Linked DNA regions of Homo sapiens: region 1 is linked to region 2. Evidence: promoter capture Hi-C in 16 types of primary human blood cells and fetal thymus (Javierre and others, 2016). All regions are on one chromosome and are shown on one strand. Each heading gives the region's core, a stretch centred on a gene start or on the middle of the fragment in contact. The rest is flanking DNA. Distances are from core to core; before and after follow the strand shown. Region 1 holds the start of TMEM150B (transmembrane protein 150B). Region 2 holds the start of SHISA7 (shisa family member 7).

Evidence for each region. The method cuts DNA at HindIII sites, captures the fragments that hold promoters and counts their contacts. A CHiCAGO score of 5 or more calls a contact.
Region 1: a fragment that was not itself captured here is called in contact with the fragment with the promoter of SHISA7 in region 2 in 1 of 17 cell types (naive CD8 T cells); the score reaches 5.4 in naive CD8 T cells.

Annotation. Positions count from the first base shown.
Region 1 is chr19:55,320,623-55,327,409 of GRCh38, forward strand. It overlaps TMEM150B (transmembrane protein 150B), which reads right to left and starts at 4,719. Exons shown (of 8, transcript NM_001282011.2): 1 at 4,650-4,719; 2 at 2,026-2,121; 3 at 347-471. The coding sequence starts at 414. The HindIII fragment of the contact is 805 bases long and covers 1,228-2,032 here.
Region 2 is chr19:55,439,695-55,446,722 of GRCh38, forward strand. It overlaps SHISA7 (shisa family member 7), which reads right to left and starts at 3,606. Exons shown (of 4, transcript NM_001145176.2): 1 at 2,499-3,606; 2 at 917-1,071. The coding sequence starts at 3,169. RefSeq lists silencers at 786-855, 2,420-2,509 and an enhancer at 2,298-2,926. The HindIII fragment of the contact is 48,275 bases long and covers 1-7,028 here.

The sequences.
Region 1 (6,787 bases), core at 380-2,879, 120 kb before region 2:
GAGGAAATCAGAGTGAGTGGGCGACTCTCACCAACAACTTTTCCTTCTGTTAACCAAACAAACAAGGACTTCTAGCCCCCTCCACCCTCAGACCAGGAGTCCAGGCCCCCAGCCCCTCCTCCCTCAGACCCAGGAGTCCAGATCCCCCAGCCCCTCCTCCCTCAGACCCAGGAGTCCAGACCCCCAGCCCCTCCTCCCTCAGACCCAGGAGTCCAGGCCTCCAGCTCCTCCTCCCTCAGATCCAGGGATCCAGGCCCCCAACCCCTTCCTCCCTCAGACCCAGAAATCCAGGCCCCAGCCCCCTCCACCCTCAGACCCAGGAGTCCATCATGCCTCTGACACTCACACGATCCAGACGCCAGAGATAGCCCAGACAGCTAGGAAGACAGGCATCAGCGACAGGTAGCCCCACATGCCGGGCTCTGCAGGTGAAGGATCGGGGCTGAGGCTGGACACCTGTCTCTCTCACACCTGAAGAACCAGCCCTCAAGGAGGGCCCAGGTGCATGAGATTGTGGCCCCAACCACTAGGCCCCGCTTGGCTCTCAGGCAGAAGTCACCTGTAGGGGTCTGATCTGATTGGCCAGCTCTCCATTTCCAGGCAATTTCCCCACCTATCCCGCAGTGTTCAACCCTATCTCACGCATTCTCCTGCTTGAGGAATTTCTCCCTGTCCTCCCAGCCCCTCCTTGCACCTCCCAGCCTCTCCTTGCACCTCCCAGCCTCCAGGACCTCCTGGAGATGCTCACCTCTCCAAGATCCCTGGGGCTCTCAGTCCTGGGACTGGGGCTGGGTGAGCTTAGGGAAGAAGGGCTGGCATTCGGGATGGGGCTCAGACAGGCCAAGGCAGAGGCAAAGTCCCAGCTGGAGCGCTGGAGGGCTGCCTGGGGTCTTGGGTCTGACCAACACTTCCTGAGGGGCTCTCTACCTCCAAACCGCCATGTCCTCCCTCCTCAGAACCTAGCAGGCAGCACCTTAGCTTCAGGGGCCCCTAACTTCCTTCCTCCAGCTTTGTGGGTTCAACGTCCAAAGTCTCAGCCCTTCCCTCCCCAGGAACCAGGAATCTGAGCCTCCAGCTCTCTCCAGCCTGGAAGACCCAGAATTCCGGGGCCCCAGTTCCTCCTAGAATACAGATATTCTTCTCCAGCTCCTGATGTCCAACCTCCCAGCTCTTACCTACTCGGGTACCCAAGAGTGAGGGCCTCAGGTCGGCCTGCTCTCTGGGTGAAGCTTCTGTTTTGGGGCTGGGAGATATGGAGCACTGACAACCCTGCCTCCTCCCCTCCACTCTCCTTCCTCTCACCCTTCTCCTTTTGCCTGCTGGAGTTCCCCAGGCAGGCTGAGCATGGGTGGGAAGGGAGCTTTCAGCGATGACATCTCCATCCGAAAATTCCCCCAGCCAGACAAAGACTGCTCCTGCCGCCTGACCCTTTTCCTTCTCTCTCCCAACAGCCATCTTCAGCTTCTGACCTCCTCCTGGCTTGGTATTTAGGGATTTGGAGTCATGGCCTCTTCCTTCTTCCCAGGACCCAGGAGTCCAGTCCCTCAGCCCCTCCTCCCTCAGACCCAGGGTCAGACCTCTAGGCCCTCCTTCCTTAGACTCCGGAGTCCCTCCTGCCTCTGACACTCACGAGGTCCAGACCCCAAGATAGCCCAGCCAGCAGGGACAGGGACAGGTAAGCCTCACATGCTGGGCTCTGCAGGAGAATGAGAGGGGCTGAAGCTGGGCCCCTCTCGCTTTCCTCTTTCTCTCTCCTCCCCTTCACACCTGAAGAACCAGCCCCTTGGGGAGGGCCCAGGTGCATGAGATTGTGGCCACGGCCTCTGGGCCCCCATTGGCTCTCAGGCAGACGTCACGGGTGGGGGTCTGATCTAATCGGCCAGCTGTCCTCCACTCCAAGCAATCTCTTCACCTGTTTCAGTGTTCAGTCCTAGCTCACACATTCTCCTGCTTGGGGAGTTTCTCCCTGCCCTCCCAGCCCCTCCGTGCACCTCCCAGCCTCCAGGGCCTCCCCAGGATGCTCACCTCTCCAAGCTTCCTGGGGCTCTCAGTCCTGGAGCTGGGGCTGGGTGAGCTCAGGGAAGAAGGGCTGGCATTCGGGGTGGGGCTCAGGCAGACATCCTGCAGAGGCAAAGTCCAGGCTGCAGGACTGCCTGGGTCCTTTGGTCTGACTGCCACTTCCTAACGGCTCTCTGTCCCCAAACCACCGTGTCCTGTCTCCTTAGAACCTCACAGGCAGCACCGTAGCTTTGGGGGACCCTAATTTCCTTCCTCCAGCTTTGTGTATTCAACATCCAAACTCTCAGCCCTATCCTCCCCTGGACTCAGATCGGAGCCTCCACCCTTGGGGACCCAGGAGTCCAAGCTCCAACTCCTTCCTCCTTCCCCAAAATGCAGGAGTCCAGGCCCCCAGAACTCTTCCCTTAGACACAGAAGTCCCAGCCACCTCCTCTCTCACTATGCCACCTCGTGTCTTTTAATGGACATAAAATCCACATAACATTAGCCATTTTAAAGTGTACGACTCGGCCAGGCACGGCGGCTCACGCCTGTAATCCCAGCAGTTTGGGAGACCAAGGTGGGCAGATCATCTGGAGTCAGGTGTTTGAGACTAGCCTGGCCAACATGGTGAAACCCCATCTCTACTAAAAATGCAAAAATTAGCTGGGTGTGGTGGCGGGAGCCTGTAATCCCAGCTACTCCGGAGGCTGAGGCAGGAGAATCCCTTGAACCTGGGAAGCAGAAGTTGCAGTCAGTCCAGATCATGCCATTGGACTCCAGCCTGGGTGACAAGAGCAAAACTCTGTCTCAGAAAAAAGAAAAAAAAAATGTGCGACTCAGCGACATTAGTGCACTCCCAATGTTATGCAACCATCGCCTCTTTCTTTTTTTTTTTTTGAGACAGAGTCTCCCTCTGTCACCCAGATTGGAGTGCAGTGGCGCAATTTCGGCTCACTGCAACCTCTGCTTCCCGGGTTCAAGTGATTCTCCTGCCTCAGCCTCCTGAGGAGCTGGGATTACAGGCCGGTGCCACCATGCCTGGCTAATTTTTGTATTTTTAGTAGAGATGGGGTTTCACCATGTTGGCCAGGCTGGTCTCGAACTCCCAACCTCAGGTGATCCACCCGCCTCAGGCTCCCAAAGTGCTGGGATTACAGGCGTGAGACACTGCGCCCAACCTTTTTTTTTTTTTTTTTTTTCTGAAACAGAGTCTCCCTCTGTTGCCCAGGCTGGAGTGCAGTGGCACAATCTTGGCTCACTGGGACCTCCACCTCCTGGGTTCAAGTGATTCTCATGCCTCAGCCTCCCAAGTAGCTGGGATTACAGGTGCCCGCCACTATGCCTGGCTAATTTTTGCATTTTTTGATAAAGACAGAGTTTCACCATGTTGGCCAGGCTGGCCTCAAAATGCTGACCTCAAGTGATCCCCCTGCCTCAGCCTCCCAAAGTGCTGGGATTACAGGCGGAAGCCATCGCGCCCAACCCGTCTGGTGTATTTTATGCTCAGTGTAATGTTTTTGAGATTCATCCATGTTGTGGCATGTATTAGTGTTTCATTCCTTTATTTTTTATTTTTATTTTTTAAACAGCCAGGGTCGGCTGGGCAAGGTGGCTGACGCCTGTAGTCCCAGCACTTTGGGAGGCTGAGGCAGGTGGATCACCTGAGGTCAGGAGATCGAGACCAGCCTGGCCAACATGGTGAAAACCTGTCTCTACTAAAAATACAAAAAAAAATTAGCTGGGTGGCCGGGCATGGTGGCTCACGCCTGCAATCCCAGCACTTTGGGAGGCCGAGGTGGGCAGATCATGAGATCAGGAGTTTGAGACCAGCCTGGCCAACATAGTGAAACCCCGTCTCTACTAAAAATACAAAAATTAGCCGGGTGTGGTGGCAGGCACCTGTAATCCCAGCTACTCGGGAGGCTGAGGCAGGAGAATCGCTTGAACCCAGGAGGCGGAGGTTGCAGTGAGCCGAGATCGCACCACTGCATTCCAGCCTGGGCGACAGAGTGAGACTCCGTCTCCAAAAATAAATAAAATAAAATAAATAAATAAAATAAAAAATAAATCCTGTCCCAGTGGGGCTGATAGAGGGCAAAGCTCTCCAAGTCCTCCTCACCCCTTCTGCTGCCAAATGCCTCTCCTCTGGGTCTCGTCTTCCTCCTTTCGCTTCTTTTTCCGGAGGTCTCCGTTTGCCCAGACATGAATCTGAGCCACCCCCTGCCCTCAGGGGAATCCCTGTCTGTGGGCAACACAGATGATCAGCAGGTGACAGCTCCTCTAAAGGAAGTCACACAAAGCTATGAGGGAGCCCAGGGGAGGGAGGGGTCCATGCTACCTGCTCCTCCGTCGGCCCTCAACACTGATCTCCTGCCCTGCCCTGTCCTGTGTTTGCCACCTGGCTGATTCCCACTTCTCTTCCAAAAACATAATAATAATAAAGACGAGAAAGCCCAGGTGATCCTAAGGAAGACTTGTCCCCGCTCTGAGCCTCCATACCCAACTCGGTGTCCTGGCACAAAGATGAGTTTGGCTCACTGGTGTCCCCACGGTGCTTATGTGACCTGCTTGGACCCTCCCTGGGAGGACAGGGGACAGGGCTCCAGCCTGCCGAGCTACTTTCAAGTTGGGAATTAGGCCCCACTCACCGGCCACGGGTAGGTTGGGTGTCTGGAGCCTGAAGGATCCTTCCAGAAGCTAGGGCTGCTGGCCTGGCTCAGCCGAGGGGAAGAGGCTGTGCTTTTCCTCTGAGAAAGATGACGTTGCACTTTCATATTGAGGAAACCGCTTGTGGTTGGTGGTGGGGACTGGTTTTTATTTTTATTTTTATTTTTTTATTTTATTTTTTATTTTTGAGACGGAGTTTCGCTCTTGTTGCCCAGGCTGGAGTGCAATGGCGCGATCTCAGCTGACCGCAACCTCTGCCCCCGGGTTCAAGCGATTCTCCTGCTCAGCCTCCCAAGTAGCTGGAATTACAGTCATGCACCACCACACCCGGCTAATTTTGTATTTTTTTAGTAGAAACAGGGTTTCTCCATGTCGGTCAGGCTAGTCCCAAACTCCTGACATCCGGTGTTCCACCCGCCTCGGCCTCCCAAGTGCTAGGATTACAGGCGTGAGCCACCGCGGCCGGCCTATTTTTATTTTTATATCCCTAGATGTCTATGTCCCCTGCCTGGAAGTTTCCCCAGAGAGGGGATGTAGACGTCTAGGAACACAGAGGTCTCAGAACCTTCCCCAGGGAGGGGATGTACACCTCTAGAGATAGATGGGTCTCGGACCTCTGTTTTCTTGTCTGCAAAACAGGGATCATGATGGTCTGCCCTCGTGCAATTGTGAGGGTTTATTGGGGTTATCCACATAAGACCCTAAAAGAATGCCTGTCTGACCGGGCCCGGTGGCTCACGCCTGTAATCCCAGCATTTTGGGAGGCTGAGGCGGGTGGATCACCTGAGGTCATGAGTTCGAGACCAGCCTGGCCAATATGGCGAAACCCCGTTTCTACTAAAAATACAAAAATTAGCTGGGCATGGTGGCGGGCGCCTGTAATCCCAGCTACTCAAGAGGCTGAGGCCGGAGAATCGCTTGAATCCAGGAAGTGGAGGTTGCAGTGAGTCGAGATTGTGCCACTACACTCCAGCCCGGACGACAAGAGCGAAACTCCCTCTCAAAAAAACAAAAAAGAAAGAAAGAAAAGAAAAGCAAGAGATTGACTGGGGATGAGGTTGCTGAAGGATAAAGGAGGAGAAAGGCCAGGCGCGGTGGCTTAAGCCTGTAATCCCAGCACTTTGGGAGGCCAAGGCAGGCGGATCACGAGGTCAGGAGTTCAAGACCAGCCTGGCCAATATGGTGAAACCCCGTCTCTACTAAAAATACAAAAAAAAAAAGAAAAAAAGAAAAAGGAGGAGAAAGACCAGGAGTGGCTGGGAGAGACTTCAGACTGCAACGTGAGTGGGTCTGGGTCTGACACTGGAGAAAGGAGATGGGGAGAGTGGAAGAATCACAGACCATGTGCAGTTCTGAGAACCCCGGTCAGGTCAGCTGGGAAATGTGGTGCAAAGATCACCCATACGCAAGTCCATGGAGACCGAAAGCAAGTCAGTGGTTGCAAGGGGTGGGAAGAGGGGAGGATGGGAAATGATTGCTTATTTGGAGTTTCCTTATGGGGGTTATGAAACTGTTTTGGAACTAGATAGAGACGAAGGTTGCACAACATTGGGACTGTGCTAGACGACACCGAATTATACTTTAAAATGCTTAGAGTGGGCCGGGCGCCGTGGCTCACGCCTGTCATCCCAGCACTTTGGGAGGCCGAGGCGGGCGGATCACGAGGTCAGGAGATCAACACCATCCTGGCTAACATGGTGAAACCCCATCTCTACTAAAAATACAAAAAAATTAGCCGGGCGTGGTGGCGGGCGCCTGTGGTCCCAGCTACCCGGGAGGTTGAGGCAGGAGAACGGCGGGAACCCGGGAGGCGGCAGTTGCAGTGAGCCGAGATCGCGTCGCCGCACTCCAGCCTGGGCGACAGAGCGAGACTCCGTCCCAAAAAATAAATAAATAAATACATAAATAAATAAATAAATAAATAATTTAAAAATTAAATTTAACTTTTTTTTTTTTTTTTTGAGACGGAGTCTCGCTCTTTGGCCCAGGCTGGAGTGCAGTGACGCGATCTCGGCTCACTGCAAGCTCCGCCTCCCGGGTTCAAAGGATTCTCCTGCCTCAGCCTCCCGAGTAGCTGGGACTAAAGGCGCCCGCCACCACGCCCGGCTAATTTTTTTTT
Region 2 (7,028 bases), core at 2,356-4,855:
CGGAGAAGCCCTTCTGACGCCTCTCCTCCTCCAGGCCTTTGCTCAAATACCTCTCCCTCGGAGAAGCCCTTCTAATGCCTCTCCTCCTCCAGGCCTTTGCTCAAATACCTCTCCCTTGGAGAAGCCCTTCTAACGCCTCTCCTCCTCCAGGCCTTTGCTCAAATACCTCCCCCTCGGAGAAGCCCTTCTGCCCCCAAACCAGACCACATCTTCTCAGTTCCCCTGACAGCTCCTTGGACCTCTCCACTGATGCATTCATCATAAATTATAATAATATAGATCATATTTAAATGATATACAATATTAAATATGATATATCATATTTTAAATATATAATTATATATATTTAACAATAGCAACAGCCCACACTTACATAGTATTTTTTTCTGTGTTACACATTATTCTAATCACCTGCCTCACCAATTCATTTGCTCTTCACCATAACCCCATGAAGTGAGTATTGTTATGTTTCTTATTTTATGGATGGAGAAACTGAGGCCCACAGAGGTGAGGTCACTTGCCCCAGGTCACACAATGGCAGAGTCAGGATTCAAACCCAGTCGGTCTGGCTCCTGACAAATTCGAATTTGGTAGTTGTGCCCTTGTGTGTAGTTGGCTGTTAGGTGGTCTGACACCGAGCGCAGGGGCTTGAGAATGTCTAAACCTACATCACCAAGGTGCCCATGGAGCCCCACCCAGGGGGGTCCACAGGAGGGCAAGGAGAGGGTCTGGCTCTCTACGGAGTTCCTAGCCCCCGTCCGCCTTTCGCAGGGCAGGACCCGGCAGTGCAAGGCGGGCGTAGGGGGTGAGGGCGGGTCCTGGGCGATGGGGGTGGAGCCGCCATGGAGGGCGGGGCTACATGATGAAGGGGCGTGGCCAGAGACGGAGGCTGCGCCGGATCCCACGTTCCACTCACCGAGGTTGGGGGTCTTCACGGTGTTGTAGAGGTTCTTGGGCGTCCTGGGGGGCATGCTGTCGGGACCGCCGATCCCCGGGGTCAGGGAGCTGCTTCGGGCCCGGTCCGGGCGGGTCCCAGGCCCCGCCTGATGTCTCAGAATGTCCACCAGAGCTCTAAAGGTGGCAGAGAGGTGGTCAAAGGCCTGGGGGCTGAGGGTGGCAGGGGTACCAGGAAGGCTTCTTTCCGCTCCCTGCTCTCGCCCTTGGGTAATCTGTCACTCAGCCTGCCTTTTTCGCCATTGGCCACGCCCCTTTCTCGTTGGCCACGCCCCCTAGAATGACCCCCTTTCTCAGGCCACACTTCCTGCTTGAAGCGCTGCTGCCTTAACTCGTGTGGAAGCCATCGCTTCTGTGGTCCCTCTCACTTCCCTGTGGGCTCGCCCCACCCTGAATCTGGGACCCCATTCCCGTTCCTTTTGCAGCCTTCCCCATGGCAACAAAGGGTGCTCCATTTACCCAGTGATGCGGACCTCAAACATTAAATCACCTTGACTCTTCTTTCCCCCACCTTCATACCTTTCAGCAATCCTACGGATCGAACCTCCAAAACATATCCCAAATCAGACCACTACTCACCACCTCTGCAATCTCTCACCTGGATCATTGCAACAGCCCCCTCACGGGTCTCCCCACTCCCACCCTAGCCCCGTACACTCCAGTCTCACGCGCAGCCCGCATAATTTAAAAAATGGACAGATGGCATCACGCCCGAGCTCAGGACCCTGCAGTGGCCCCATCACACTTAGGATAAACCCGGGCCCGCCTACTTCTCCTCACCTCCTGCTGCCCACCGCCGCCAGCTGCACGGGCGCTTCCCTGCCCTGCAGGCCACCGAGGGCCTTTGCACGCGGTTCCCCTGCCCAAAACCTCTCGCCCACAGATCTCTGCGTGGTTCGCTCCCTCCCTTCGGGTCTCCGTTCAGAGGCCTTTTCGGATCACTTCCTCTAATCCAGCGCCCTCTCTCTCAACACTTTCCGCTGATTTTCTTCACAGCAGTCATCTAAAATTACACTGCACATGCTTACGGACTGGGCCACTGATAGTTAATGAGCCCTTACCGTGTGCCAGGACCCTGCACGAATCAACTCAGTTAATTACAATCCGAATAGGTGGGGACGATGATTAGTCTCATTGTGCGGACAGGAAACTGAGGAACAGAGACGTTAAGCAACTCATCCACTGTCACATAGCCTGTAGGCTGTGAACTTGGATTTGGAAGTCAGGCTTTTCCACCAGGGCAGAGACCTTGTTTTGTTCACTGGTGTATCCCCAGCTCCTGGCCCACAGAAGGTGCTCAAGAAATATGTGTCGAATGAATGAGAGTCTGGGCTTCTCCCTCTCCCTGCATCACTCCGCAACAGCCGGGCCGGCTCTGGCGCGACTTTCTCAGCCCCTGCCCACCTTCAGCTACGCCGGCGGCCGCCACCTGGGTCTCTGACCACCACGCCCTATCCCTGCAGCCCCTCCTCCTCGGATGGCTCCACCTCCCTTGCTGGGCCCCGCCCCAGGCTCGCAGTCCTCCCGCCCGAGAGCACACGCACCTGGGCACGTTGATATCCCGGTGCGCCCGGGGCGCACGGGACGCCTTGCTGAAGGCCACTTTGGCGCCGACGCCCACGGCCAGGGCGAAGCTGATGACCCCGCACACGACGTAGGCTGTGCTGCCCCCGGGGCCCTCGCCCCCGCGGCCCCCGGCACCCCCAGTCCGGCCCCCTTCCAACCACCCGGCCTGGCCGGGCCCTGGCCCCCCGCCCGCACCCCCAGCGCCCCCGGCGCCCCCAGCTAGCGGCGGCGGCGTGGTGGCCCAGCGCGGCGTGTCGTAGTTGGAGCAGGAGGCCTGCGCCAGGCGCATGTGACGGTGCTCACAGCAGAAGCGGTAGTGGCAGGTGCCACAGCAGAAGCGGTAGGAGCCGGTGCTGCAGTTGAAGGTGGCGTCGTACTGGCCCATGACATCGTAGTAGCCGTGGCAGAGCTCGGCGGGAGGGGGCGCCCGGGCCGCCGCGCCCGCCCCGCCCGCGGGGCCGGTCCTGGTGCCGTTGGCGCCTGGGCTCGCCGCGCCCCCGCCGCCCGTCAGCGCCCCGGTCAGGCGCCGCAGGTGCGCCAGCAGGGCGGGCAGCGGGCCCGCGGGCTCGGCGCTCGTGGCGTTGGACGGGCGCGCCCTGGCCTGGCCGGCGCTAGAGGCCAGGAGTACGAGGAGCAGGAGGGCCGGCATGGGGCTTGCAGGGGGTCGCACTGGGCCGCCAGGCTGCGGGGAGAACGAGAGCAGAGGTTGGAGCGCTGGGCGGGAGAGAAACGGTCAGAGGGTGAGAAACGTAGAGATGGGTGGGCAGAGAGGCTGGGGAGGGCGGGCGGGGGGCGGCAGAGTGTGGGGAGCAACAGGCGCCAGGAGGCAGGAAGGGCGGAGGGAGCTGAGCTGCGTGGGCCCAAGTTGGCCGCCCCACGCGCGGTGGGCGACGATGGGAGAGTAATGGAAACGCGCCCGGGCACGGCTGGGGGAGAGAAATGAGCATGGGCGGACAGAACCGGGATCAGGCGAGAGATGAATGCGGGAGAAGCGATTGGGAGGGTCGACAGACACCAGAGGGGTGTGCAGACATTAGGACGAGGAGCGAGGCGAGGCGCGATGTAAGGAGAAGAAACGGGGGCGGCGAAGAGGAGAGGGCAGGGGAGGCAGCTGGAGGGAGGCGCGCGAAGGGGAGGGGAGGGTGGCGAGGGGAGTGGGGACCGCGGAGGGAGGGAAGGAAGCGAGACAGATGAGGGGTGGGTGGGAAAGGAGGAGTCAGGGAGACGGGGAAGGAGGGAGAAAAGAAGGGGAGGAGGAGGAGGGGGAGGAGAGGGAGGGAGGAGGAGAGAGAGAAGTTGAGAATTTGAGTTTATAGACCAGGCAAGTGGGAAGAGGCAGTGCACGGTTTTTCAACACTGACATTCGGGGACCGATGCTGCTTTGTGGTGAGCGCCTGTCCTGAGCGCTGTAGGATGTTTAGCAGCGCCCTCTCCATGCCAGCAGCACCACATTCCCCCGAGTTGTGACAATGTAAGATGTTTCCAGGCATTGCCAAATGTTCCCCTGGTGGGAGGAGGCCACAGCTGCCCCCGTGGAGAACCACTGACTTACACCCCTATGGTCCTCAGTGCCCCGAAATGCCAATTTCTCTCCCTTAGTTAGATCTGATAATCAAGGGATCTTAGGTGCCCTCCCTCCCTCCCTCTCTCTCCCTCTCTCTCTCTCTCTCCCTGGCATGCACACGCACACACACACCACTGTTACGGCGTCGGGTTTGAAGGGTCTCTGTCCACAGCTGAACCACAACCACAGCAGGGTGGTTCCCCTGCCGACTGGACCTCCTGCCAGCTGCCTGACACTGACAGGCTCTTATCTAAGCTCCCTGTGCCCCAAGTCCCCCATCTGTAAAATGGGGATAAGGATGGTTATCTCTGAGTGGTCAGGAGGATGAACTGAGGGAATATGTGTAAAGAGCTTAGAACAGTGCCTGGCATATTGCAGGTGAAATATGAAAGTGTTTGCTGCTGCTGCTATTTCAGAAGGGAGATACAGGCTGAGAAAGGGTCGTCCGGGTGCGGCGGCTCACGCCTGTAAATCCCAGCACTCTGGGAGGCCAAGGTGGGCAAATTGCTCAAGCAGGAGACCAGCCAGCCTCGCCAACACAGCAAAACCGTGTCTTTACAAAAAAAAAAAAAAAAAAAATTAGCCCGGCGTGGTCGTGCGCACCTATAGTCCCAGGTACTCAGGACGCTGAGGTGGGAGGATAACTTGAGTCCCAGAGATCAAGGCTGCTGGGAGCTGTGATTTCACCACCGCACTCCAGCCTGAGTTGACAGAGTGAGACCCTGTCTCAAAAGAGAGAGAAAAGGTGATGCAGAAGAGAGGTGGGAGTTGGTGGTGGTGGTGGTGGGCACGTCTTCCAGCTGTTTCTATGGCAACAGTCCAGCCAAGTCCCAGACACGCCCACCCCCGTGGACCTAGAGGGATGATAGAGGTGGGAAGGATGCCTGGCCTCGGGTTCCGGGAGAAGGAAACGTCTGAGCTCTACCTGCAGGAGGAACCCCCCAGGGGTCTGGGGTGACTGCCCACGGAGTCTTACATTTCCTCTCTGCAAGAACCTGATCTGAACAGCCCCTGCCCTGAGCTAGCTGCCGAGAGGCTGCCATAGAGCTTCCCAGGAGCAGGCATGATGCGCGGGGTGTGCATTCGTTCTGCAAATCTTCATTCAATAAATGTCTCCTGAGCAGCCTCCCTGGGCTGAGGATGCAGCAGTGAGTAAGCCCACAGGGTTCCTGCCTTTACGGGGGTTTACGTGCTAGTGAGGGGGGACAGTCAGCAGATGGACACAAATGAATGGGACACATGTTGACGCCAATTGTGAAGAAATAAAAAGGAATGATGAAGGAAGCCGTGAAGAAATGAAAGCAGCATAAAGGGATGGAGGGGGTGGATGGGATTGAGTCAATAAATATCACTCGGTGTTATTTTCTATTATATGCCACCATCCATCGTGTGTGTGTCTAGGGACCACACCACTGTCAACAACATTGCTGCTGGTGGGGATGGGCAGAGGGTTGGAAGGTGAACCTTCCAGAGCCTCAGTGAGCTCCATCGCCCTCCTGCTTGGGGCCTCACCTTTCCTTTTCAGCTCCAGCTTGGACCCCTCCCCTGACTCGGTGCTAGAATACCCCACTGCCCACTGGACACTTCCTCCTGGGTGTTTAATGGGAGTCTTAGAAGTGGCTTGACCCCACACTGTGGAAGAGAGTTTGGCGGTTCCTTAAAAAGTTAACTAGAATTGGTCCAGGCGCGGTGGCTCACGCCTGTAATCCCAGCACTTTCGGAGGCCAAGGTGGGCGGATCACTTGCGGTCAGCCTGGCCAATATGATCACTTGCAAGACCAGCTTGGCCAATATGACGAAACCCCGTCTCTACTAAAAATACAAAAATAACTAGCCGGGCATGGTGGCGTGCGCCTGTAGTCCCAGCTACTCAGGAGGCTGAAGCAGGAGAATCGCTTGAACTCCGGAAGTGGAGGTTGCAGTGAGCCGAGATTATGTCATTGCACTCACTGTACTCCAGCCTGGGCAACAGAGTGAGACTCCGTCTCAAAAAAAAAAAAAAAAGTTGGCCGGGTGCGGTGGCTCATGCCTGTAATCCCAGCACTTTGGGAAGCTGAGGCGGGTGGATCACGAGGTCAGGAGATCGAGACCATCCTGGCTAACACGGTGAAACCCCGTCTCTACTAAAATTACAAAAAATTAGCCGGGCGTGGTGGCGGGCGCCTGTAGTCCCAGCTACTCGGGAGGCTGAGGCAGAAGAATGGCGTGAACCCCGGAGGTGGAGCTTGCAGTGAGCAGAGATCGTGCCACTGCACTCCAGCCTGGGCTGACAGAGTGAGACGTCGTCTCAAAAAAAAAAAAAAAAAAAAGAAGTTAACTAGGATTACCATGCACTTCCACTCTGCAGTGTCTACCCCAAAGAATTCAAAACATGTGTCCACACAAAACCTTATCCTTGAATGTTCATAACAGCACCTTGCACAACAGCCAAATACTGCAAACAATGCAATCACCCATTATGGAGGAACGGACAAACCAACGACGGCCTACCCATGCCACAGAATATTACTCAACCGTGACAGGTACCAAGGGCTGAGATACAAGCCACAGCATGCACGAACCTTGAAGACATGACGTTCAGTGGAAAAGTCCAGCCATAAATCTCATGTAGTGTATGATTTCATTAATATGAAATATCACAATAGTCAAATCCACAGAGACTGAAAGCCGATTAATAATTGCCCGGAGCTGGGGACAGGAGGATGGGGGGTGACCGCTAAAGGGTGGCCAGGCTTCCTTGTGTGGTGAGGAAAATACCCTGGAACTAAATAGTGGTGATGGCTCCACAACCTGATGGATACGCTAATGCCACCGAATCAAACACTTTGAGAATGGTTAAATGGTGTATTTCCCCACAATTAAAAAGGTAACAGGGACTGGCATGGTTGCTCACGCCTGTAATCCCAGCACTTTGGGAGGCCGAGGCAGGCGGATCACTTGAGGT